7 separate regions of the Homo sapiens genome follow, and regions 2, 3, 4, 5, 6 and 7 are each linked to region 1. Evidence: promoter capture Hi-C in 16 types of primary human blood cells and fetal thymus (Javierre and others, 2016). All regions are on one chromosome and are shown on one strand. Each heading gives the region's core, a stretch centred on a gene start or on the middle of the fragment in contact. The rest is flanking DNA. Distances are from core to core; before and after follow the strand shown.

What was found. The method cuts DNA at HindIII sites, captures the fragments that hold promoters and counts their contacts. A CHiCAGO score of 5 or more calls a contact.
Region 2: a fragment that was not itself captured here is called in contact with the fragment with the promoter of SLC29A3 in region 1 in 11 of 17 cell types (total CD4 T cells, naive B cells, naive CD8 T cells and 8 more); the score reaches 11.1 in total CD4 T cells.
Region 3: a contact is called between a fragment that was not itself captured here and the fragment with the promoter of SLC29A3 in region 1, in 12 of 17 cell types (naive CD4 T cells, activated CD4 T cells, non-activated CD4 T cells and 9 more). The highest score is 11.7, in naive CD4 T cells.
Region 4: a fragment that was not itself captured here is called in contact with the fragment with the promoter of SLC29A3 in region 1 in 5 of 17 cell types (total B cells, naive B cells, total CD8 T cells and 2 more); the score reaches 7.9 in total B cells.
Region 5: a contact is called between a fragment that was not itself captured here and the fragment with the promoter of SLC29A3 in region 1, in 6 of 17 cell types (naive CD4 T cells, naive B cells, monocytes and 3 more). The highest score is 6.6, in naive CD4 T cells.
Region 6: a contact is called between a fragment that was not itself captured here and the fragment with the promoter of SLC29A3 in region 1, in 7 of 17 cell types (naive B cells, total B cells, total CD8 T cells and 4 more). The highest score is 9.1, in naive B cells.
Region 7: a contact is called between a fragment that was not itself captured here and the fragment with the promoter of SLC29A3 in region 1, in 16 of 17 cell types (naive B cells, M2 macrophages, endothelial precursors and 13 more). The highest score is 15.9, in naive B cells.

Annotation. Positions count from the first base shown.
Region 1 is chr10:71,317,281-71,320,843 of GRCh38, reverse strand. SLC29A3 (solute carrier family 29 member 3) reads right to left here and starts at 1,585. Exons shown (of 6, transcript NM_018344.6): 1 at 1,534-1,585. The coding sequence starts at 1,534. It overlaps LOC124902445 (a long non-coding RNA gene), which reads left to right and starts at 1,181. Exons shown (of 2, transcript XR_007062183.1): 1 at 1,181-1,282; 2 at 1,940-2,875. RefSeq lists a silencer at 1,339-1,788. The HindIII fragment of the contact is 7,819 bases long and covers 1-3,563 here.
Region 2 is chr10:71,795,823-71,799,385 of GRCh38, reverse strand. CDH23 (cadherin related 23) reads right to left here. Exons shown (of 70, transcript NM_022124.6): 49 at 2,166-2,282; 50 at 808-1,032; 51 at 106-275. Among named protein-coding and RNA genes, the nearest start is that of MIR7152, 6.9 kb to the right of the region's middle. The HindIII fragment of the contact is 1,972 bases long and covers 475-2,446 here.
Region 3 is chr10:71,774,680-71,778,242 of GRCh38, reverse strand. CDH23 (cadherin related 23) reads right to left here. Exons shown (of 70, transcript NM_022124.6): 39 at 342-563; 40 at 1-54. Among named protein-coding and RNA genes, the nearest start is that of VSIR, 2.9 kb to the right of the region's middle. RefSeq lists a silencer at 82-237. The HindIII fragment of the contact is 4,509 bases long and covers 1-3,504 here.
Region 4 is chr10:71,755,124-71,758,686 of GRCh38, reverse strand. All of the region lies in intron 38 of CDH23 (cadherin related 23), which reads right to left. VSIR (V-set immunoregulatory receptor) reads left to right here. Exons shown (of 7, transcript NM_022153.2): 4 at 3,221-3,328. Among named protein-coding and RNA genes, the nearest start is that of VSIR, 17 kb to the left of the region's middle. RefSeq lists an enhancer at 557-1,092. The HindIII fragment of the contact is 297 bases long and covers 1,795-2,091 here.
Region 5 is chr10:71,737,975-71,741,537 of GRCh38, reverse strand. It overlaps CDH23 (cadherin related 23), which reads right to left. Exons shown (of 70, transcript NM_022124.6): 35 at 2,891-3,040; 36 at 1,766-1,894; 37 at 588-716. Among named protein-coding and RNA genes, the nearest start is that of C10orf105, 20 kb to the right of the region's middle. The HindIII fragment of the contact is 3,448 bases long and covers 1-3,397 here.
Region 6 is chr10:71,720,379-71,723,941 of GRCh38, reverse strand. The region is part of intron 28 of CDH23 (cadherin related 23); the gene reads right to left. It also overlaps a transcript of C10orf105 not described here. Among named protein-coding and RNA genes, the nearest start is that of C10orf105, 2.4 kb to the right of the region's middle. The HindIII fragment of the contact is 3,191 bases long and covers 1-2,845 here.
Region 7 is chr10:71,700,171-71,703,733 of GRCh38, reverse strand. It overlaps CDH23 (cadherin related 23), which reads right to left. Exons shown (of 70, transcript NM_022124.6): 23 at 1,523-1,712; 24 at 1,040-1,185. Among named protein-coding and RNA genes, the nearest start is that of C10orf105, 18 kb to the left of the region's middle. RefSeq lists enhancers at 1,210-2,123, 2,124-3,038. The HindIII fragment of the contact is 7,797 bases long and covers 1-3,563 here.

The DNA.
Region 1 (3,563 bases), core at 336-2,835:
TTGAAGCCAGTGAGTCGGGAGGGGCCCAGGCACACTGCAGGCACCCTTGTCAATGTTTGCTGAATGAACGGACTCTGCACGACCAGGACATTCTCCCCTGCTGGGGTAGCATGTACCCTGGAGCCAGCAGGTGGGGGGCCACTGGATGCCCAAGTGCAATGCATCCAGCCAGCAAGTCTATTTTAAACTCCCCTGGTTAGCAGAGCCCCTCCCCAGCCTGGATTCGCATGGAGGCCAGCATTAACAAGCTCACTGTCTGGAAGCTCACTGTGTGGAAAATCGCTTTTTCCACATGCACCCACTCATAGAGGAAAAGCCATGTGAAGGCACAGCAAGAAGGAGGCTGTCTGCAAGCCAGGAAGAGAGCCCTCATCAGAAACCAAATCAACCAGCACCTTGATCTTGCCCTTCCCAGCCTCCAGATCCATGAGAAACAAATTTTGTTTAAGCCACCCAGTCTATGCTATTTTGTCTGGCACAAAATGGTACAAATGTAACAAGCTCACTTGTTACATTTTAAAAATTAGTGTTTAAAATGTAAAAAATAATCATGACCCACCCACATAGAACAAGAGAGAACCGGCAAGTGGTTCTTTCCAGAGGCTCCAGCTACCTGTGGGGGCGGCTAGAAGGTCCACCAGCCCTGTCACTCAGGACCACACCTGGCTAGGGCCCCCTTCTCAGTTCCTAGCGTCTATTTGTCAAGGCTTGACTGAGCTTCTGAAGAAGGAGCCAGGAATTTTCTCTAACCAGGGTCACAGGCCAGGGCACTGGAGTGAGCAAAGTCTTATTAGTCTTTATAAAAGCTAGCTGCTGGCTTCTGGATTAAAAAATAAAGAGAAAGGCAGGCAAGGAAGTGCCCAACCTTCCCCAAAACAAGCTGGCTGTGGCCTGGAACGTGCTCCTGGGTCACCTGCGGGAGCCCGGCCATGCACAGACAGACAGCCCCACACAAGGAGGCAGGCACTGCTGGGGCCGCGGCAAAACCTCATCTGGGCTGGGAAGCCTGGGTGCTGGTTCCAAGGAGGTTCCTGACTCTGGCTAGGTGGCTCGCCCCTCTGTGCCTCGATCTCCTGGGCTGTGAACCGGGGTGGGGAGCTGGTAGGGCTAACCTGTGGGAAGGCACTGGGAAGCGCAGGGCACCGCCTACTGGCCGCGGCAGAACCGGCTTTGCGGTGTAAACAGCCCCAGCCTCAGGCCCCGCAGCTGGGACCGAGAGAATCAGCCACCGTCTGGATACTTCGGGCCGACGGGTCCATACCAGGCCCCCACCATACAGGCGGTGAGGTCCAGTCTCAGGGAGGAGGAGGGGAGAGGATTTGGGGAAGAGAAGATAGAGACCCAGAAAGAGGGGTGGCAGAGAGCAAGGAGAGAGAGGAGGGACGGTGGGGAAGGGACCACGGATGGGGTAGGGTCCTGCGGCTCCCCTGGCAGCCCGCAGCCGCCCCCAGGGCCCGGGAGGGAGGTCGCTGAGCGCGAGTCTGGGGGCGGCCGGGACCGTAGCCGGAAGAGCCCGAGCCGGCCCGCACTTACTGTCGCCGCTGCGCCACGCCGCCGCTGCCTCCGGCGCACGGCCAGGACCACTGGGCTTGGCAGGCGGCAGGCGGGCTCCTCCCCCGGCCCCGCCCCGCCCCTCGCGGCAGCACGCCGCCGCTTCCCCGTTTGCAAACACGCTTTTTTCCTTTGTCTTCTGCCGGCGCGCCGGGGCTCCCCCTTCTGGCGCTGAGCTGGGGCCTGCGTGCGCCCATTTTATAGGAGAAAAAGTGAGTCACCCAGTCTTAAACGCACTGCCCATGCTTGCGATGGGTGCGCTGCGCATCAGGCCTTTTGGTTGCTGCTCCTTCTTTACCTTGGAGCCAGACCCCACTGTCTCAGACCTCCCCTTTAGCTACTATAACCTGCACCCCAGGACTCAAAGGAGCCCTCATCTTGTCCCCAGGCCGCTGCAGAGACCCCTCTCCAAAGGCCGCTTCTACCCTTACCGGCTGCCGCTGCTCTGGAGGTGAAGCGGGACCCACACCCGGACTGAACTGGGCCTCCCAGGCCAGGCAGCTATTTTCAGTAGACCCAGAACATGGCAGTCAGCAATTCCAGCCCTCACACTTGACCTCAGCCATAGCGTGTAACACACAGCTGCCGCGTGTTCTTTAAGAAAGCAGGGGCCGGGCGCGGTGGCTCACGCCTGTAATCCCAGCACTTTGGGAGGCCGAAGCAGGCGGATCACCTGAGGTCGGGAGTTTGAGACCAGCCTGGCCAACATGGCGAAACCTCGTCTCTACTGAAAATACAAAAGTAGCCGGGCATGGTGGTGCGTGCCAGTGATCCCAGCTATGTGGGAGGCTGAGGCAGGAGAATCGCTTGAACCCGGGAGGCGGAGATTTCAGTGAACCGAGATGGTGCCACTGCACTCCAGCCTGGAGCCTGGGCGACAGAGCAAGACTCCATCTCAAAAAAAAAAAAAAAAAAAAAAAGGCGGAAACCTTCCTGACTCCCGGTCCTGGCCCAGTTGGCCTATTCAGAGCGGGGATCTGGATGCTTCACAGGGCCTGAAGATCTGTGACCATGGATAGTAAATTCTTGCAGTTGCCATCCCAGGGCTCAGGGGTGCCACAGAACCCATTGAGGCTGTCAGTGTGTGGACAGGTTCTCAGAACATCCCCACTCCCTGCCCCAGCCTCTCATTTTATAACCACCATTCCCCAAACACTGGCCTGATCATAAAAGTCTCGAGTACACATCCAGATTCTGGGGACCTCTCCCCAGGAGGGTTGCTGCCACTCCCCAATCCCTGAGGGTGGTGCTGTATCTGCTTTGTTTGCTCTTCCCTCATCGTGGGCACATAATTTGTGTTCAATAAATACCTGGATTAATACAACCCATCACTCAGGGGGTGCAGAATGGGGATCCAGAATGGATCTATTTAACAAGCTCCACCAGCAGGCGAGTTTGGAGACTAGCACCCTAAATTGTCAGAAAGCCCCCCGGCCCAGGAGAGGAAGGGGCTTAGCTCCAGGCTTACAAGCTGAGGGATAATGGTAAAATTACTAAACCTCTCTGAAACCCAGGGTCGGCTTAGGACTGTCGGGAGAATTAAGTCAGGTGATCCATGCCAGGCACTCAATGCAAATTTCCATCACTTCCAAGGAAGACACTCCCCACCCCCAAAATGTGATAGTGTATATGTTAGTTTAGTCATCAGGCCTTATTTTTAGCCTCTTTACGTTGGAAAAAAATCCTCTAATATACAGAGCATTTTCATGAACAGTCTCCCATTTGATTCCACCCCCCCACCCCAGTACCCAGTGAAATGGGACTGTTGTCCCCATTTTACAGATGAGGAAAGCCAGGCTCAAAGAGGTCAAGTGGCTTCCCAGGGCACACAGCTGGCAGTGATGGAGTGGCAGAACCCAGAGCCAAGGCTCTTTTTGTCATGCCCGGTTACAGGCAGGCAGGTGAGGCTGAGGGGAGCTGGGACAGCACGAGGGACAAAGCCGTAGGATTCAGTGAGGGCAGCAGATCAGGGCTATTTCTGGTCCAGCCCCAAGACCATGACCCATGTCTGT
Region 2 (3,563 bases), core at 211-2,710, 480 kb before region 1:
CACTCCCAGGGGGCTTAGAGGCTGGCAGGGTGGGAGAGGAAGATGCCCAAAGACCCCAAGGAATGGGCGCAGGTCCTGGACCCAGCCTGTGGCCTGGCCACCCACCTGGTAGGAGGGCTGGTCAAAGATGGGGTTGTTGTCATTGATGTCCACGATTTCCAGGTAGACAGGGATCTCAGCTGCCCGGGGCGGGGACCCGTTGTCTGAGGCCCTCACGGTAAAGTTGAGCCAGTGCACCTCCTCGTAGTCCACTGTCCGGTTGGCAATGACCTTCCCTAAGACACAGAGGCTCCCACTGCCATTTTGGCCACTCCTCATTCATGGCAGCTCTCCAAAGTATGAGGAGAAAGACCTGGACTCCGAGGGGCAGCTGTGGTCACTTGAAGGAGGGTGGTCAGGCAGCACCACCCAGTTGCAGGGCACACGGCAGGGAGGGACTGGTGTCCAGTTTTTCTTATGGAGGGTGAAAAAGCTTCTCCCAGTCACAGGAATGAGCATCAACTAGCCCAGGACCTGAGACACCTCCTTCTTGGCCTTCCTGCTCCCTCGGTGGTACTAATAGTAGGAGCTTGGGTGGTGGGGTATCCCAGGTTTCCGGCAGACATCAAGAGGCTTCCATCCCAACCCAGGAGTAAGCACTCTGTCCCTTCCCCTGGTTTGGGCATCTGGAATCTGGCATGGAATGCTGGCCATCTTGGATCTGGCCCAGTCCACTGAGGAGCCACAGAGGGGCTGTGGTCTCTCTTGGGGACTAAGCAAGCAGAGATATATGTCCCCCAGCCCTCCTCTGACAGATTTCTAACCTACCTGCCGAGGAGTCCTCCAGCTGGACATACCCTGGGGGCACCAGGTCCAGCAGGGTGTAGGTGACCAGCCCATTAAGGCCCTTGTCAGGGTCCACGGCTGCCACAGCAATGAGTGTGGTCCCAGGGGTGGCCCCCTCCAGGATCCGCTCCATGTAGTAGGTGATCCCAAAGGGCTTGAACTGGGGCGTATTGTCATTGACGTCCAGGACGTTGACAGTCAGCTTGGCTGTGGTGGAGGCAGGGAGTGAGGGAGAGGGGAAGGACACTAGTGTGGCTGGGCCAGGCCTTCCTTAGCCTCAGCCAAGCCGGGTGAGCATGGCAGCATCCCACAGCCCCCCAGAGGCTGCCTGAGGATTGACCTGACCCTCAGGCTGCAGCACAGGAGGCTTTCCAGTGGTGTGCTCACTTGCTGTTCCATAAGAGGAAGGGCTAGGTGACCCTGGTGGAGCCCTCGGCCCTTCCTGTGCCCCGGTTTCCTAAACTGCTCAATGAGAAAGGGCAAGATAATCTTTAAGACCCTAGATCCTGTCTGAGCTGTATGTATCCCCTCTATGTAACCGGCCTGGGCCCTTAACCATCTGAGCCTCTGACATGGAAGAGATGACCAAGTCTGCCCTTCCTTCCGGAAAATGTGGGCTTCTGGGCTGTGAAGATAAGCAGTCATCATCTGCCAGGCCTGGCTTCCCCTATAGCAGCTGTCTGTACCTCATGGCTGAGGCAACTTGAGGCCACCCCATCCCCACTTCCCCCACTCAACTCTCGCTCTGCCCACACAAAATCCACCCCTCTGGCAGCCCCCTCCCAGCCCACGCCTCAGGCTGCAGGCAGGATGGCCTGGGCCCGATTGGCAGAAGGTAACACTGGGCCCCTCCGTTCTCCACCGTAAGTGCCTGCACCCCCAAAGCAGTGTCTGTGGCCTCAGGTTACCTCCCCTCATTCTTTGCTTCCTTTGTGCTAACCCTGTGGCTTCCTATAAGATCATAGGGTTCCCATCTCACATCCTACCCACACCCTGGTTACCAGTTCTGCTGGCTGAACCTAAGCCTCTGTCTAACCATTTTTTCTCAATCTGTTCCAGGCTCTACCAAGCCTCCTTCCTACTCTCAGCCTGGGGGTTCAGATCACACACAATTCTGAGCTTCTGGATCCTCCACTGCTGAGCTCTATGTAGCCATCACCACCCTGGGCCTCACGGTGGCTGCCACCTTTCATGCCTCTTGTGTTGCCTGACTCCTGGCCCCCAGAGCAACTGGGTCTTGTTGCTCCCTCCCTGGGGACAGACCAGTGCCTGTTCCCCACCTGCCCCCTGCCCTGATTGGCTCTGAGTGACCAATGAGAGATGTCTGCAGGGAACCTTACCATTTGGCACACTGACAGAGCGCTCTGGTAGGTCGCTGGCATTGTCAATCACTGAGAGAGTGACCTCATAGGTGGCAACCAGCTCCCGATTCATGGGGGACTTCACCATTACAGATCCTGTGGACCAGACCAGGCCAGGTTCAGCCTGAGAAGAACCCCCTAAAATCTGCCCTTCCCAGGGGTGCTCCTGGCCAAACCCTCCCAATCCCCACAAAGGATGACGGTCCCCAGTAGAATCTGGGACTTGTGGCTGGGGTGGGCCCACAGCCTCCTCATAAGCTTGGGTCACGTGGCTCTGCCCCTCCCATGATGCTTACTAAGCAGGTGATGTTGGGGAAGTTATGTCACCTCTCTGCACCTCTGTGTCCACATTTGTAAAACTAGATAATTACACTACCGACTGTCAACCCATCCTTTTCTCAATACCCTACTATTTTGAGGATTAGAAAAACAAAATGAGTTTCCATTTGTAAAGTACTTAGAACAGTGCGTGGCACACAGAAGCTATGTAACTGCTTGTTTAAAAACTGCTGTATTCCTTAACAATGCAAATGTACTTAACACTACTGGACTCTACAATTAAAAAGTGGCTAAAATGGTAAATTTCGTTATGTGTATTTTATCACCATTTAAAAAATGCTTAGATTCTAGGGAGATCAAGTTTAAAGGAAAGTCATGGTAGCTGAAAAGCCCTGAGGGGTTCCCTGGAGGGGACAGTGGTGGGACCGTCTGGATACTTCAGGCCCATCCCTTTGTCTTGATTAAATAGGGAGTGACATGGGCTGATTGTGGGACAGGAGCATTGGTTCCATGGCAGTCCTAGCAAGGGGTTTCCTTCTGTTCTACCCACTGCCTCCCAGAGTCCCTGCCTGCTCCCCAAATCAGAGAGGAACCCCCCAGAAGCATGGGCGGGGACTGGACAGACCTAGTTTGGCTGACCTCAGTGCTGCGTTTCTTGGGACCTTTCTTGTTCCTGCCTGTTAGAGGGCCTGGTGGCTTCTCCTCCCATTGGCTTCATCCCAGAGTGAGACCTCCTCTCCCTCTCAGGTACAGGGGTATCTGAGATTCCCTTCCCCCTTGGCAGATCCCCCTGCTGGGCTTCTGTCTTCCGTGGGTCCCCAGCCATGGGGTAGTCACTTACCCTGGGCCGCCTCCTCCTCCTCCTCCTCCTCCTCTTCCTACTCTCGCTCCCTGTCCCCCAGGCTGGGGAGCGAGGATGGGGAGAGGGCGGCTGCATTCAGTCTGCAAAGGCTGGGCCACGGCCTTGGCCCAGGCCCCACAGGACAGGAAGGGTGGTGGGGGTGTGGTGGGCATGGAGGAAGGCAATGGGGTGAGGCAGAGAAGAGATGAGGTGGGAAGTGACAGAGAAACAGAGCTCAAACCTGTGGGCCTGCCAGC
Region 3 (3,563 bases), core at 1-2,500, 460 kb before region 1:
GTAGCGGCCGTGGCTGATCTCGTAGTCCAGCTCTTTGGCAGCAGTGATGACACCCTGGGGGACACAGGGAAGGGACAAGGATGGATCTAGGGGTGGTAGGTCTGCAGCACCCTCTGACCAATTTGGGAAGTAGGCCCTGACATTGGAGCTGTGATGGGGAACCACTGCCACCCCCTAGCCCAGGCTCCACTCCACCAAACTTTTCATCCTCCCACACTGAGTGCCCCCACAGTTTCCCCTAGACTGCATCTTTGCTCCATCCCCCTCCAGTGTCACTGAACTCCTTGCCAATCCCTGGATAGGTTTCGCCCCTTGTCTTGATCCTGCCATCAGCTGCTGACCATGTGTCTGTCGATGCGGAAGGTGTTGACGATGTTGCCTGCGACGATGGCATAGGTGACTGTGCCGTTGGGACCCTCATCCAGGTCCAGTGCCTGGATGGTGATGAGGCTGGTGTTGAGCGTGTCTGGGCCCTCATCCAGCAGCACCTCATAGTGGGGCTGCTGGAACATGGGCGCGTTATCATTCTCATCCACAATGGTCACGTACACGTGCGTGGTGGCCTGTGGAAAAGAGTGGGTCACGTCCTTGGTCAGGTGGCCAGAGGGACCAAGGTGGATCCAGATGGCTGTTCTCCTGGGCTGAACTCACTCCATGTGACTCAAACAGAAAGGGCAAGGAGAAGAAAGCAGGGGGTGGGTCACAGGCTGGTAGAGAGAGAAAGCTCAAAAACTCCACCAAAAGCCAAGTAAGGTAACTGCTCTGTCCAAGATGGCACTGGCACCACCACTCCTATGTCTGCGACCCCCAGCAGACATCACTAATCAATCACAGAACTGCTGAGGCCAGATGCAAACTTGGGATCCTTGTTAGCACAGTGGTCTAGTGATTAAGACTGGCATATGGGATGAACCCTGGTAGTCACCCCAGCTCAGAGCTTTACGAGGGCCTGTGTCTTATTGAGCCTATATGTCCTGCCAGACTACAAGAGGCAAGAATGTGAGGCACTCGGCCCAATGCCATATTTAACCTTCATCTATTGTTCATGTAAATGAAAGAAATACATATTTTCAGCATTTCCAGAAGGAGGACATTGGGTTTGTGGCAATTTCGTGGGCAGAACTTGTTGACCTGTGAAAAATAAGACTCACAGAACATAACTTCATTCCAAGAACAGCTTCTACAACATACTCTCCTGTGATCGGCCATCTCTGCCAATGCTTGAGTCAATTGGACCACAAGTAATATTCAGCTAATCAGAACTCGGCAATCAGCACTCAAGAATCAACTAGAAATGGTTCTTGCTCCTGCTTCCTGCCTTTCTCCACCTGGGAAGATGTCCCCTGTGGACTAACTGCCTTACCCTGGCTCCCTTGCTATCCAGCTTCCTGCTGGGTGTGGCCAATGGGAGGCCCTGGCTGAAGATGAAAGCAGTGGGGAGAAAGAGGCGGGGGTGTTTCTTCCACACTCCCTCCATTCCTCACTGCGGTTCTGCCCATGGCTGTGTTTCTCCTGCTTGGGGACAGGGGTCCCCCTTTCATAGCACCAGCTTTCACTGGGCTCCAGAACATCACTTCCTCTTCTTTCCCTTTGGACATGTGAGTGGTAGTGGCTTCCTGTGGTTGGTGCTAGTCTCTGGGTGCTTTACCAGCCTTCCTAAACAGTCCCTGTATTAAACTCTCTTCAGTTGAACCCTTTCTGAGTGTGCCATCTGTTTCCTGCCAGGACCCTAACTAATACAAATCATAATGAGTGACTAATATAAAATAATAAGGTGTTAATCACTGCAAAGGTGTCTGGGTAGAGAGAACGTGACTAGGCCATTGCCAGGCCAGAGAACAGAAAGCAGGTGGTACAGACAACTCAATGTAGGCAATTTGCATATGGTTTTTTCCTTGGGACTGGCTGGCTCTGGAGCTACCACTGGAAGAATGGACAGATGGGCAGGGGATCTGGACCCAAGAAGGCTGTCACTGCCCCTGAGGAGGCAATGATTCCTCTGATATGCAGCTCTGGATCTTGGGGGTGGAGGGCATTGGGTGTTTGCTGAAACGGTTTCCAAAGCAGATAGGGTTGGCAGCCTTGAAAAGGAGCTGCGTGGCCTTGGGCAGGTCACATCCCCTCTCTGGACCTTTTCTGTCTGTTTAATAAAGGACCTGGCTTGATTTCTAAAGTTGTTTCTAGCTCAGGGAGTTTGGGAGGTGAGTTTGGGAATGTGGGAAATGTCAGCATCCCCTCCCCAACAGGGAGGCTGGAATTCAGCCCCTTTCCTGCAATGTGGTGCTCTTGTATTCTTGCCGGCAAGTAAGGGGACTCAGGAAGGCTCAAGGCTGGGCCCCTCACCAGTAGAGAGTACTCACAGCTGCCTCCAGGCCCTGCAGAGCCACAAGATGGACATGGTGGCTTTCCTTGACAGTCATCTTTATTCGAATATTTGGGGCCTTCACCACTATTTTTAATGAAAACAAGCACAAACACATGATGGAGTGTGCAGGCTGCAGGGGCTGGGAGTGGAGAGTTTGAACAGAGTTGGGCCTTGGAGCCCCTCCTGCTCTGAGACCAGGTCTGGGCTTGGGGAGGGAAGGTGGGTTTGACTTCCTCTGGTCTCGGAGGGAGGAGAAAGTCAGTGCTCCAAAGGCCCTCTCAGCTGAGCCCTTCCTGTCCTGCCCTGGTGTTGAGGAAACAGTGCTTGAGGTTTCTGGACCATGGTCCTTGGGCAATGCCTGTGTCTCACCCTGATGCAACCCCAGGAGGCTCAGTGGTGGGCAGTGTGGTAGGGAGAAAGGAAGTGAAAAGGGGGGAGGGAACTGGGCCCAGCTCAGAGGCTCTATCCCCCTGGGGAAGGGGTTGGCAGGGCAATTGCTCCCCTTTCTCTAATTCCAGGCCCTCCCCGGCTGCTAGGCCCTGGGGAAGAGGGAGTCTGGTTTCAAGGGTGTCCTGAGCAAAGCCAGTCCAGGAAGGGTTGAGATGGGGTGGTGCTCTAGGATCTTGCCCTTAAGGGACCCCCCTCACTTGCCAGAGGATGTCAGGGTGAGAAGGGCCCGGTGTCCACCTGATCTCAGTTGGCTTTGTACCTCCCCTGGTGGAAGGGAGCTCATGCTATGCCAGCAGGAAGGGCCCTGGGCTGCCTTCCAAGGTGGGGTCACAAGGCCAGGAGCATGCCCAAGGACCTGGGTTATGTCCTGCCAGCCTCTGGGGCTCCCATCCTGGGGAGTTCACTGGCTCCAGGGGGACTGGGCCTGCACAAGTTCACTTAGTAATAACATGATGCCTCAGCCTTCCTCTGTTGTAGCCTTCCCTGCCCTTAGAGCAAGGGCTAAGGGCCTCCAGAGAGCCCGTGACTTGGATCAGGCCACCCACAAGGCCCCCAGGACTCCTGGCTCCCATTGAGTCCTGATACCCTGGTTCCTGACCCAGTCAGACTCTGAGTGTCCTCTGCCTCTCAGCCTAGGAGTCACCTATTAACCCAAGATCCCTAAAGTGCCAGAAAAACCCCTGGAAGCTTCAGCTAGACTGGGGTAAACTGAGTAAAATGGCTGTGCTCTTCCACTCCTGTGATCCCT
Region 4 (3,563 bases), core at 694-3,193, 440 kb before region 1:
GAAAGAGAGGCCTAGAGATGTATGCTAACTTGCCCAAGCTCACATAGCCCAGGGTAGCATAGCTGGGATCTGGCTGCAGGCCTGCTTAGCTCTGCATACTCACCTTCTTCCCAGCTTGGGGCAGTGCAGTGGGTAGCAGTTAGCCCCCCGGTGCTTGCCAGAGAGGTGCCCTACAGGGTAAGAGGGCACTGCCCTAAGGGTGCCTGGCGCTGAGAGGTTGGGTGAGAATACCCAGCAGCTTGGAGACAAAATGCAAGGGCACCTCCCTCTTCTGAGAAGAGGTCTTGGCTTCCACACCCCTCTATACCCTGTATGTGTCAGACATCCAGTGGGGACCAGCCCCTGCTAGGCCCTGGAGATACAAAGGCATCCAGGAGGACATGCACGAGGACCTAAGCCGGAATGGGGATCAGCTAAACCACGGACCCAACAAAACCCAACTCAAAGGCTACAGTGACTTTTTACTCAGCTACCCTTTTTTCAAACCAACAAACAGGCCAAGAGCAAAATTAGAACATGCATTTTGGTCAGAGCCATGTTGGTCAGGCTGGTCTCGAACTCCTGGGCTCAAGTGATCTACCCGCCTTGGCTCCCCAAAGTGCTGGGATTACAGGATTGAGCCACTATGCCCAGCCCCAGTGCCAGCCTCTTAATGTTATCCTTGGGAAGTAAGAGTGTAGCTTGACTATGAAATAACATGAAAGTACAAGTTAACCTGAGGTAGGGGAATGAGACTAGAGAAGTTGGTGCCCAAGGAGCTCCTGCATTGCTGAGGGGCTGTGGTTTCTCAGTGAGCTCAGAGAAGGGGTCTAGGCAGCTCATCTCCCTTTGAACTTCTTCCCACCCCCCAGCGCAGCAGAATGTGCTGTCTGCTTTCACCCAGCTTCCTCCCTGGGAAACCAGGCAGCCCAACCCTCAGCAGCCGAACTCCCTCCTCCATATATCCCCGTGGGCTACCAGGCAGGCCCTGGACAAAGGCCGCCTGAGCAGGCCAGGCCCCTCCCATCCCACCCTGCTGTGTCAGGGCCTGGCACACTCCTTAGTGCGGTGTCGGCAGCTACCTCTGCCAGCGCCTGATCACCTTCCCAGGATAAGCCTGGCTCTGGATGGTGAGTGAGTATGCCTGCCTTCCCCTGTGAGTGCCAGCCCAGGCACTGGCCACGCTTGGGGGAAGGGGTGGGGAACTGTGGCGAGGCTGAGCTCTGCAGAGATGCCTACGGCTTCAGAAAGCAGCTGGATCCACAGACTTGTCCCCAAACCTCTGCGCCCCTCTGCCCCAGCCTCAACTCAGCCCAGATCGTAAGGAAGCCTCAGGCTCTCAAAGTGAAATTAAGTCCTGATCTGATAGAGGGTCCACATAGGGGAAATCTCTACCTGGGGATAGAAGTTAGGCAGGGATATCTGGCCAAGCTCACCCTCCAAAGGCAGATAGGGAACAGGTATCAATGAGCACCTGGCAAAGCTCACAAAATGTTGCTTACTAGCCGTCCAGAGGAGACCTGCTTTGATCACTAGAAGAGAGTGCTTTGCAACTGGCTTCTCAAATATTGCCCACAATAAGGTCCTTTGATGGGGGTTTTGAAATACTGAGGTGTCTGGGTTATAGAATGTCTTTACTTTCAATATTCCACGTCAAAATGCAGCCTTGCTAAGATCTGCAGGGAACCTGCTGTAATGTGGAGCGGAACTTGCTTTGTAATTAGCATAGCAACTGTTCCTGTACCAGTGGGTACTTCTAAAGTGACTGAAAACAGTTTGTTCTCATTTGCAGTATGAACAAACCTCCTGAAAGCTTGTTTACGCTGTCGGATTGTAGAGCAAAACAAAAACAGCCTTTATTCCCAAACAAATAGCGGAAAGGCAACATTTAGACCACAGCCATTTACCTCTCAGAGCTCTTTGGGGCGAAGTTGACACTGTGACAAGGTATCCCAGCCCATCTTTTGGCCCTGGGAAAGGCTAAAATTGGGAAGGAAATGCGTTTATGTTGGTTGTGGTTCTGAGGGCACGTCTGTTCCCAGCTAAACTCCTGCAGTCAGCAGATGCCCTGAAATAAATCAAACCTCCTCATGCTGTTGGGACAGCGAAGCTTCGTGTACACCTTTTTGGAGGGCAATTTAGCAATAGCCTAAAAGAAAATGCACATACTCTTTGGCTCAGCACTTTGACCGCTAGGAATTTACTACAGATTTCCTTGCTGAGTGAGCCAGGCTGCGTGCACAAGTTCATTGCTACATTATTAGTTATGCTGAAAATGGAAACAACATGTCTACCAACAGGGGACTGCTTCAATAAATTTAGTGGGAGCCATGTGATAAAACTCTAAGCAGAATGAGGCAGGGGAGACAGAGAGATGTCCAAGCTGTGCTCAGTGGGAAAAGCATTGTCATATGATGCTGCGTCTGCTGTATTTGCAGGGAATATAACTAGGACCATAACACAAAAACCGGCACACAGGGATGATCTCTTCAGAGGGGGTCTTGGTACAAGGGGAGGAGGAGATTCGAATATTTTTTAAACTTGTACTTTTTTTGGTAGTTTAATAAGTTTAAAATTGAAAAACATTGTACAAGGATTCACGTTTTTCTAGTTCTCACCCCGGGTGTTTCTCCTGTGACTTGTGTGGTGAGATCAAGGGGTTCTAGAGGCCCCATCCCAGAGCTAAGGAGTCTCTGGGATGAGTTGGGGCTTTTTATCTATTATGATAAAACATATATAATGTAAAATTTGCCATTTCAACCATTTTAAGCCTACAGTTTGGTGGCATTAATTACATTCACAATGTGCAACCGTCACCACTGTCTATTTTCAAAACTTTCATCACTTAGGCTTCTTTTGACCTTGAGCTCTGTGGCATGGGGTCTGCGAAGGCCCTGCTCTCCCTTTTCAGAGAACAACCTGTAGCCAAGGGTGTTCCAGCTGTACCTTGTGGGCTGGGATGAGGACTCTGTTCCCTCTCTTGCCTGGAGCTGCCTGAGCTGTAGGTGACAGGTCTTGTTTCTGAGTGCTCCAGGGGCATAGGGCGGCAGGCACAGGGCTCTCTTTGAAAGGAGAACCGCCTTATCTTCCATGCCTCTGTAGGTTGCTGGGGGTCTAGCTGTGGGACTCTGGGGAAAGGCGGGTCTCCTGCTTCCTGGCCTTCCCTCTCTGAGCCTCAGTTTATGCTCAGGAGGAGCAATGGGAATGGGGCTTCACCTTGGCTACCTCTCTGCCCTTTCAGACATCACGGCTGCAGCCCTGGCTACGGGTGCCTGCATCGTAGGAATCCTCTGCCTCCCCCTCATCCTGCTCCTGGTCTACAAGCAAAGGCAGGCAGCCTCCAACCGCCGTGAGTATTCCTCCCTGCCTGGGGTGGGTGGACGGTGCGAGTGACCTGCTCCAGCCCCCAGTTCAGCCCCTGGGATTCGCAAAGGCACGATGCAGGCACAATTCCTTTTCATTTGAGAGTTGGGAGCAGCTGCACTTCCCGCCAGGAGCTGGGCGAAATGGCCGAGAGAAAGGAGGCATGCCATTTCCGGGGGCCAAGTGCCCACCAGCCCCTTTGGCTCCCAGGCAGTGCTGGC
Region 5 (3,563 bases), core at 424-2,923, 420 kb before region 1:
GAACATTCTGTGAGCACCTCTGATATGCTGGGGCCTGCATTAACTCACTGGGTCCTCTCTCCAACTCTGTGAGTTAGGTACTGGCATCATCATCCTCATTTACAGAAGAGAAAACTGAGGTGCAGGGAAGGAATGTGTGCAAGTCCACACAGCCAATCAGTGGGCTGAAGTGAGGGAGTCTGGCCTGAGAGCTAGACTCTGGCCACATGTCATCCTGCCTTCATGAACGTCCAACCTAGCATGATACCCAGCAATGCCAGGGCAGATTGGAGTGGCTCAGTCTTAGGGCTGAATAATAAATACATTTTTTAAAAAAGCAAGCTCCCGGGGTAAACCTCAGTTTCCTGTCTGGTGAAAGGCAACTTTCTTCTTTTTCTCTTTTCTCTTCTCCTCTACTCCAAAAAGATACTGCATTCTAGGATCCAGGCTAGGCGTTAGGGCTATCACTACGAATGAGCCACAGTTCCCATCCATGAGATCTGAGGGACCAGTGGGCCAGGCAGACATTTAAACAGGGGCTGCATGGTTGGCTCGTGCCCACGGTCCCCCCGTATGTCCAGCTATATGGGCCCCGGGGCTGCCCTCACCTCATTCACACTGACATTGTATCCAAAGGGGCTCTCGATGACTGGAGGGTTGTCATTGATGTCCAGGATGGTCACCTGCAGGATGTGGTCCTTCTTCCGTGGAGGGGTGCCTCGGTCAGAAGCCACAACCTGCAAGGAGGAGGGCAACTGGAGTCAGGGCTAAAGCGTGGCGGGCAGGATTGGGAATATGGAGTCCAAAAGGGCTGTGCAATCAGTGGGGAGCATTTGGGAGGGCAAAGAGACTCACTGAGAACCCCTGGGTGGCCTGGCCAGCCCTGGGCTCTCCCGGCCAGCCCTGGGCTCTCCCCAAAGCCTTCACCTTCTGCCCCATGCTGCAAATGATTCTTGCCCAATCGTCGTCTGACTTGGGATCCTCGTTTGGAATCTGATTAACATGTACCCAAGCCTTGACCTCCTGACCTACCTCTGACTGTATTCTGGGCTGTGCCAGCCTTTGACCATGACCCTGGGCCTGCAACCTGACCCAAGGCTCCTGTCTTTAGCTTCAAAGGCCTCTGTCCCACGCACTCTGTCCCATGATCTCTGGCAAACGGGAAAAGAGCCTCAAGTAATATTATAAGCAATGAGCTGGCGCCCTATGGCTGAGCCTGTTCCTGGGAGCCTTGATGCAGTCATAAGTGCTGCAGGAGCTGAGCCCTCTGCAGAAGCGCAGTCCTGAGGTTCCCAGAAAGCCCTTGGCAAACATCCCAGCCATGGCCATTCTGCAATAATGATAGCCTTCGTGGCTCCTCAAGCCTGCACTTGCTTCTTCCCTCCACAGGGCAGGCCAGACGGGGATTTTTTTGTACATTGCATAGGTGGGGAAAATGAGGCCCAGAGTTAATAACCTGTCCAAGGCCACACTGTATTTGTAGAAGAGCTGGGGCTCTCCCAGCTCCACCAGGCTCTCCCTCATCCTCCTGGCTCTTACAGCAGGGGAAGACACCTCAACTACCTCCTCCTGGGTATCTAAGGTCCCTCCCAGGTTTCCCTATCCTGGGTCAGCCTCACTGTGCTCTTGGCCCCGATGGGTGCAGCTGGCCCCATGTTACTTGGTGACAGCAGGGGCACTGACCACCAGAGTGTGCTGATGGACAGGCTCTCTCCTGGATGGAGAGTAGTGACCGGTCTAGGCACTTAGCCAGTGGTCTCTCAGTCCAAGGGAGGCCAGGCCCCACCTGGAGGATGTAGTGATCCAGCTCTTCTCTGTCCAGGGGCCTGGCCACAAACACTTCGCCAATGGAGTCATTGGTGGTGACGATCTCAAAGGCCCCCGCGATGTTGCCAGAGGCCAGGGAGAAGACCACCTGTGGGGAGAAGAGAGGGTGAGGGGTGAGCAGGTGTGGAGGAGAGGTGGCCAGGTCAAGCCAAGGGGGACTCCCTGGTCCTCCTCTGCCCACGTGGGCCCTCTGTTGAGCAAGGGCTTTTGGGAGTGCAGTGTTTTAAGCAGAAGTGATTCATCTCCCTCAAAATGGGGGTGCAGGCCCATGGAGGTAGTGTAGCACCCATGGAAAGTTCCGGGGCTAGGAGATATCAGTATCCTGGCCTGGAAGAGTGGGGCTTGAGTCCCATGGCACTGACGTCTTCCCAGGGTAGAGGGGATTGTGCTCACGCTGCTGGGGTGGGCACACGCTGCGGCATTACCTGGACTCTACTTGGTTCTTACGGCAACCTTGACAGAAAGCAACTGTTCTCAGTTCACAGAGAGGAGGCTCAGAAACATGGAACAACCAGCCAAGGTCACACAGCTTGCAAATGCCAGAGGTCTGAACCTACACACTTTTGTCTCCAAAGCCAGCATCCCTCGACCCCCTAGACCATGCAAGCCATGCTAACACCCGCAAACACACGGCCTAATGCACGGAACAGATGAAAGCTGTGTGAACACTGGCGGGTTTCATCACTTCTCCCTCTGCACTCTGGGGTGTCCAAACCTGGAGCGACAGCAAGCGCCTCCTGCCATGGGGCTGGGCCTAGGAAGCAGGAGAGAGGACGAGCATGTCCTCTCAGGGAGCTGGGGCTGCGTGGGAAGGAGTTACCCGGAAAACAACTTCACTGAGGGGTTGCGCCTTGGCTGGCCTTCGGGCTCCATGTCCACATGACCCAGGCAGGGCCACCGGCCTGCATAGCTCTGAGGCAGCTCTGTCCCTTCTCCCTGACCACAGACTGGGTGATTGCAGGGGCAGAGACCGGAAGAACCTGGTGCTTGGTGATGGGGGTGGCTCAGAAGGCCCCTCCAGCTGTGAGAGCTGTGGGAGCCCCGCTGACATGGTGGATCCTGGCTGTTTCACTCGGTGGCCCACCTGCCCATTGCTGCCAGCATCAGGGTCCCAGGCCTTGACAGTAGCCACTCGCTGGCCCACAGGGCAGTCCTCGGGTATGCTGACCGCCGAGTCGGAGGTGAAGTCAAACCGGGGGCTGTTGTCATTCTCGTCCAGCACAGTGATGTAGACCTGAGGGTGAACGTGGTCAGAGACCTACAGCCTCCTTCCCCTCCTTGGCCCCAAACACCTGGGTCCCACCGTGGGTCCAGTAGGGACCAGATCCCCAGTGGGTTCTGGAACATCAGCAAACCCTCAGAGCCCACCGAAGCCTATCCTGACTTTACAAAGGAGGCCCTGGGCCCATGGCTCCTAGCAGTCTGATTGGTGTGGGGTGGCAGGTAGACACACTTAAATCTTGGCTAGGAGGGCAAGGGAAGAGGCCTGGTGGGGAGACTGTCAGAGGTGGTGGGGACAGGAGAACTGAAAAGCCAGGCCATGGCTAAAGTGGATGGAGGCTAGGAATGCTGGTCTAGCATGAGCAAAGCTTCCTGTTTTTCATGAAAAATAAGGAATCTAGATTTTAAAGTGAAATTGGCTGATGAGTAATAAAATTTAGAGAAGAATATTATGTGTGGGCTGTCCAAAACACATCTGGTGGCCAGATATTGCCCGAAGGTGTCTTTGTTTGCAACCTTGGGCTTAGAGGGAAGGA
Region 6 (3,563 bases), core at 1-2,500, 400 kb before region 1:
TGCCAAAACCTGTGGTCTCCCTCAGAGGCTGGGGGTGTGGGAGACAAGGGGACGTGTATGTCTTTCTAATCCCCAAGAGGATGTCCGACCGCTGATGGCCCCTGCAGCCCTGTCCAGGACCAGCTCTGCCCCGATCCTCCTCCAGGTTCGCAGGGAGGCTGGGGGAGAAGGTGAAAGATGGCACTGCAGCTCGCTGGGTCCAGGCTTTCTCAGGCTGTTCCATCCCTCCACATTCCCTACCCGGCAGCCTTTCAGAGCCCAGGAGCCTCTCCCAGGGTGGCTGAACTGCATGGCTACTTCTTGCCCGCATTTCCTTGGCCTGAAGTTATTCTGGCCACACTGGGTCCCAGCCGGCACTGTACACTGTAACGGTCACTTCGTGGAAGCCCAGGAGCCCTCCTCCCACACAATGGCTCCATGCTCATTCACACGCACCATCACCCCAGTCTAGCTTCAGATCGGCCTGGCTGGCGTGGCTGCGACTCAGGCTTATGTGTTTATGTGTTTCCTCTGGTGGGCTTGTGTGTGGGGGGGGACGTTGTTGTCACTCTGAGACACTGCCTAGTGCTCAGCCCTTTTTACAAGGAGTGCAGCCTCGAGGCTACTGGCAGAACCATAGCTGACCCCAACATGAGTCCTGTCAAGCCAATAACTGAATACCTACTTTACCCACTGCCCACCCAAAACAAGTGGAGAACAAACACCCCCCAGGGCAGTGCAGGAAGAGGCTAGACCCTCCTATGACATGCTGTCCTGTTGGATCTGTGGTGAATTGCTTTGTAAGGCCCTGGGCTCTCCCACTTCTTTTGGGTCTGCCCCTTCTTGTCTCACCACCTCTCACTTCAGCCCTGTGGTGTGCATGGGAGCTGCCATTTTCTTCCTGACCCTGCCAAGACGGTCAGAGGGGATTGGTCCAGGACTGGGTGCCTGATCAAAGCTGAGCCAATCACATTCTTCTCTGGGATTGTTGACCTTGGGCCCAGAGAGATTGAGTCAGTCTTTCTAGCAGTAAAATGTGGGAATATCAACAGCCCCTCTCTTGCACATCCCTGGGCCCCACTTCCCACCACTCTCTCCTCTTAACTGCCCTGGCACACTGGTCTCCTGGCTGTTTCTTGAACACCAAGCGTGTGCTGGCCTCATGGCTTCTGCCCTGGCTGTTTCCTGGCAAGCTCTCCCTCCAGATATTTGCATGTTCATGCCCTCATCTCCTTCAGGTCTTTGTTCAAATATCTTCTCCTAAGACCCTCCCTGAGCACTGCATATGAAATTATAGCCCCCACTCCAATGTCCTGGCCTTCCCTACCCCTGGTCACCCTCTGATACATGCTATCTTTGCTTATTGCCCATATCCCCACAGGAAGAAAGGGCTTTGTGCACTGCGATATCCCTGGTCTCTGGAACAACAATCCTGGCACACAGTAGGGTCAAATATGTGAACGACTTAGGAGCAGAGCTCCAGGGAGAGGAACTAGGCTGACACTCAGTAAGCACGAATGCAGGACACATACAACATTCAGCCCTGGTTTGCATCCTTGGGCCCAGTTATTCCAGGAGCCCATCTGTGCCTCGCTCCCTGTTTGATTTTTCCTTTGATCCTGTAGGGTATCCCAGTATTGCTACAGTACACTTCTCCTTCTGCCTAGATTATTATTATTTTTTTTGTAGAGACAGGGTCTTGCTATATTGCCCAGGCTGGTCTCGAACTCCTGAGCTCAAGCAATCCTCCCGCCTTGGCTTCCCAAAGTGGTGGGATTACAGGCATGAGCCACCATGTCTGGCCCTGCCTAAGATAATATAGAATGGATTTTCTTTCTTGCCACCCGAAGCCCTAATGTAGGCTTTCCTATCGTTGCTCACTGGACAAAACTGCAGAGAAGATGGGGATGGGTTCCTGCTAGCAAAGATCAAGAAAGCAGTGAAGGTGGGATTGGCTGAAGGTTTCCAAAGGAGGGAGCTGGGTTTGGAAGGATGGAGGAAACCTGGCTTAGCAGAGAAGGTTGGGAAGAACATTTGTGCTGGGAAACAGTGTTAGCTGAAGTAGAGGCAGCTGGGGAGGCTAAGGAAGGAACTAGGACCCCAGTCTGGAGTGAAGGGCTCATGCAGGGACAGCAGAGGGCTGTGGTTGGAAGAGTGGAATGACAGCCTCAATCAGCAGCACTGATGCCCTGGAACCTCCACAGGACAGGGAGTATAGACATGGTGGTATGAAGGCAGAGCGAGGAGCCTGTAGCAGGCGCTGGCCTCGATGCACATCCGGGCACTGCGGTAAGTGTGTCTAAGGATTCTGATGAGCATGTTGATGGTGGGGAGGAGGACGAGTACACTGGAGCAAAAAGAACAAGGGCCCTGGGTCAGGCACACCCAAGCATGAATTTAGGCTTTGTCACTTACTCTCTATGGCACTATGGATAAGTACTTTAGCCCCCTTGAGCCTCAGTTTTCTCATCTCTAGACTGGGCACAATGATGACCAGCCTTGCAGGGTTGAGGGGAAGATCAGAAGTCATCTTGCAAAGCGTCTTGGCTGGTGCCTAGCATGGGGATGTGTGGTGAAGGTCAACATGAGTGATGCCACCTTCTCCAGAGAGCCCTCTGGATTTATGCCAGAGCTGGGGATGGCTGGATTGCCCCTTGCCGTGCAGTTCTTTCTCTCTCCATTCCCTGAGAAACCTTAGGAGCTGGCAGGTGGAGGGATGTAACAGGGTGCTTCAATTGTCCAGATCTGGAAGGGCTCAGGATGGTGAAGAGAGCCACGTTGCCCAGAGCATGCCCTTGCATGCCTATCCATGGTGAGATTTCCTTGATGCCTCCCTGCTCCAGCAGCCTGCACCACCCTGGAAGCTTTGTCTTCTGTCATCTCAGGAGGAATGGGGGCCACAGATGAAGTGTTCAGTTGGTTTCAGGAGAGGAAGTTAAGGAAAATGAAGGCAGTGAATGCTGTGATGGAAGGTGCAGGAATCCCAATGGGGACTCTGGGCATTGAAAACACCTTTGGGCCGGATGCTTTGCCTACCCTGGATGCCTACTGCCTGCCCCTGCCCACCCAGCACAGGGGAAACACCAAGTCCCCCACCACTCACTTGCTGGGTGCCCCTGGGCAGGTCACACCTCTCTGGGCCTCAGTTTGGTCATCTGAGAGAAGACGGGGGCTCTTTTCTCTCAGAAGAGGAGTTAGATGACCCCTGAGGACCTCTCCAGCTTTAACAGTCCATAGGAAATCTCTTGTCCATCTTGGGGTTGGCAGACAGTGCCTCTTTTTATGGGCAAGGGCAGGAGGGAACAGCTAAAAACCAGAAACTGGGGCTCCAAAAAAGGGAATGGGTCTGAGGCTCAGGTCTTGGACAGGGCCATGACTCCTGTCTTGAGTTGCATTTCTGGGAGCTTGGAGGTCCCTGGTGGGGAAGCTGCCAAAGACTTGGGCTCCTAAGCAGGCAGCTGGTTGTCAGGGAAGCTCTGGCTTCTGGGGAGAAAGAAGGCTGGGGGAGGGAAGTGTGTGTGTGTGTGTGTGTGTGTGTGTGTTTTGGAAAGAGCCTCCAGTGGAGGTCTCCCGTGGCCCACCCG
Region 7 (3,563 bases), core at 393-2,892, 380 kb before region 1:
AAGAACACCATTCACCTCCTCCTACAGATGAAGAAACTGAGGCACAGCGGGCCTGTGGGGCACCACCAAGCTCACCCCCTCTGGCATCCTGACAAACAACCCCATCTTCTTCTAATGAGAACAGGCTAACCTGATACAGCCATTGTGTCTCAGGTATAAGCCCTCGTGACCGACACACAGTGATCACCACAGCTACTGTGTTTCCTGTGTCCAAGTTCCAGGGTGCTTCATACGTGTGTCTGATTGAGTCCCCACAGCACAGCCAGGCAGGTACTATTATTATCTCCATTTCACAGATGAGAAGCTGAGACTCAGAGAGGTTAAGCAGTTTGCTCCAAGTACACAGCACCCTGGTGCTGGAGATGGGATTCACATCCCCGTTGGTTGGACTCCACGGCCCATGCTCTTAACCAGGAGGGTCTCCAGTGTTTCTGAATGGCCCCCGGAGGGCAGAGGTGTTGAAAGGACTTGAAACCCTGGATGTCATCTCCCCTAAACCAGCACCTTCAGGATCCCTCTAATCAGAGGATGATGGAACAGGAGGCAAAGAAGCCAGGCCCAAGATCAGACCATGTGCTTGGCCAAGGGGTCTTGGGCAAGTCTCTTTAGAGCCCTGCAAAGTAGACAGAGGCCCCTCTACTGTAGTAAAGGGAGCTGATCCGGGGCTTATGAGAAGGCATGGGAGAGGCAGATGCCCAGGGCTACACTCATCTGGCCTTCTTTGTATTCTAGAACCATCTGCAGGCTTAGGGAATGGAAGGTCCAAGGTCCTGGGCCAGACCTCCATAATCAGGCCCTGAGAAACTTGGACATGACTTCCAGAATTCCATCTTTGCCTCTCTCCCTCTCTCTACCTCTGCCTTTGCCCATCTCCCTATCCTTTTCCTGCCACACTTCCCTCCACATCTCCAGAGCCTCTGTCCTTCAAGACCCAGCTCCTCCCCTGCCCCAGCCCTGCAAAGTTTTCAGCCTGGGCTAGGCTCCTCAGGCACCCACTGCCCACCTCTGGGCTGGTAGGAATGAGATGATAGAGACTCACTTGGTAGATGGAGACCCCCGCCGGGATGCCTTCAAGCACCTCGGCCACAAAAGGCAGGTTCTGAAAGGTGGGGTCATTGTCATTGAGATCCAAGAGGTTCACAAACACTGTGGCACTGCTGGTGGCTTTCAGAGGGGGCCTGCCACCTGGGAAGACCAGGGCGAGAAGGGGCCAAGGACAGGGTAAGATGGGTGCAAGAGAAAACGGACAGGAAGAAGGCAAGTGGTGAGAGGGTGGCAGATTCAGAGCCCTCCATCCCAAAGGCCCCTCCAGGAAGCAGCCTAGGCCTCACAGCTCCCCTCCCCAGCTCCCTCCGTTCCCTCAGGGTGCTCTAGGAGTCACAACTGGGGCGTGGGTATTACTCTACTCTTGGTGATCAGACATAGACCTCCTGGGTGGGCCCCAGGTACCCCAGAGGCCCAGTCACCAGGGACACCCGCAGCCTAAGGTGTGGGGGCCGTGAGGGGCGAGAGGGGTCCATACAGTCAGTAACAGAGACGACGATTTTGCGCATCAGCTCGGCCTCATGGGGGTCGGGGTTCTCCCGGTCCAGCATGGCGTGGGTGGTGCGGATCTTGCCCGTGGTGCTGTTGAGGCTGTAGAACTTGTTGGGTGGCTGGATGCTGTACACCAGGGTGCCATTCTCCCCCAGGTCTGGGTCAACAGCCACCACCTGCCCGGGAGGGAGCAGACCCCTTCACTGAGCCGCGCCTGGGGAGGGTGTCTCTGGGCTGGCCGGGAGTATCTGAGCTCAGACGTTGGTCCTGGGGAGGGGACATCCTGGCTCTGGCCCAGGAAGTGGGCATCCCCGCTGGGCCCGGTAGGGGGGTCCGAGAGGGCTGGGAGGCAGGAGTTCTCTAGGGGAGGGGCTGGGAATGGCTGGGGAGTCTGTATTCCAGCTAAGATTTTTGAAAGGATTTGAAACCCTGGATTTTGGAGACTGGGTTCCTCCTCATCAAACCCTCCCTCCCTTCCTTCCTTTGAAGCATTAGATTGTGACACCAGAGATGACAGGGCATGTGAAGGAAGCCATGGCTGGGGCCCAGTTTCAGAAGGTGGGACCCAGTTAGCTGGGGCAGTCGCAGGGCTGGGGGAGTGTTAAGGAAGGAGAGGGTGGAGCTCCCTGGAAGGGAGGTACATGGTCCCTGATAAGGGGCAGGGTCTCAGGACTGGACCTCAGACACTCTGGCCCCTTCAACTCCCCGGCCTACAGCCTGGTTCCCCACTTATAACCCCCACGTCATGAAGGGGTCAGTGCTCAGTGCCATCCTAACCCAGGGGCGGTGAACCCCACAGCCTGCTGTCCCTTAGTGTCCCAGATCCCACACAGCCAGGTCATAAACAAAAGGCAAAGGGCCCCCTGCAGCCTTTGAGGGCTCCTCATCTTCGCCGAGGCCCCCTGCGTGCACCGATCCCCCGCTCTGTGGGGAAGCTCCCTCGTCCTCCAACCGCCCTACCTTCCACAAGGAGAAAGCAGAGCCCAGAGAGGCACAGGCCAGTCTTAGGGTCACACAGCACCAGCCTTGGAGCTGACCCAGCTCCCAGCCTGGAGGCTCCTGAGGTGGCCCCTTACCCCTCGCTCACCCCCGACCCTGCATTGCAGAGGCCACTGTGGCACCAGGGGTGGACAAGATCAGTGGTGGTGGGGGGAGAGAGGTGACTACAGTCCCTGGGGCCACATCAGGACAGTGTTATTCTTAACTGCAGGACACTCGGTGATGACAGCCAGGCTTGTCAGCTCCTTCATCTTACTTGATGTGGAGCCTTTTGTGCTTTGGCAGCAGAATCTGTCCCTCCTCTGCTTAATCCCCAGCCAGAGGTGTCTCTGGGGCCACCAGACCAGAACAGACAGATGAGCTGCCCTGGCTGAGAACTCCCATCTGCCCCTGTCCATGGGTCCTGGGGAGGCCGGGGAGAGAGAGGCTGATGGAGGGCTGAATGCTGTGGCACCCTAGGCAGGCTTCTCCTTCAGAGAGGTGGGGGCAGCCCCCACTCCCACCAGGGACTGCTCGGCCCTCCTCTCCCTTCCCAGCCTCGCAGCACCAAAGGGTAGAGGAGGGGAGGTCCCTGCCTTCCAGGTCTGAGGTGTCCTTATCTTGCTGTGGGCACATTGCCTCAGTTTCCCTAGCCTCCATAAAGGGAAGCCCAACACCCCCATTTTGCAAACAGGAGATAGGGCTCTTAGGTACTCCAGGCATAATTTAAAACAGGCCAAGTCGTTTCACAGATGGACATAGAAGACCAGCATTCCTTGTGTTTCTACAATGCTTCTCTCAACAGTTTGAAAAGGGAGAATTTTTTTTTCTTTGAGACGAAGTCTTGCTCCATCACCCAGGCTGGAGTGCAGTGGTGCAATCTCGGCTCACTGTAATCTCCACTTCTGGGGTTCAAGTGATCCTCCCACCTCAGCCTCCCGAGTAGCTGGGATTACAGGCAAAAGCCATCACGCCTGGCTAATTTTTGTATTTTTAATAGAGACAAGGTTTTACCATGTTGGCCAGGTTGGTCTCAAACTCTTGACCTC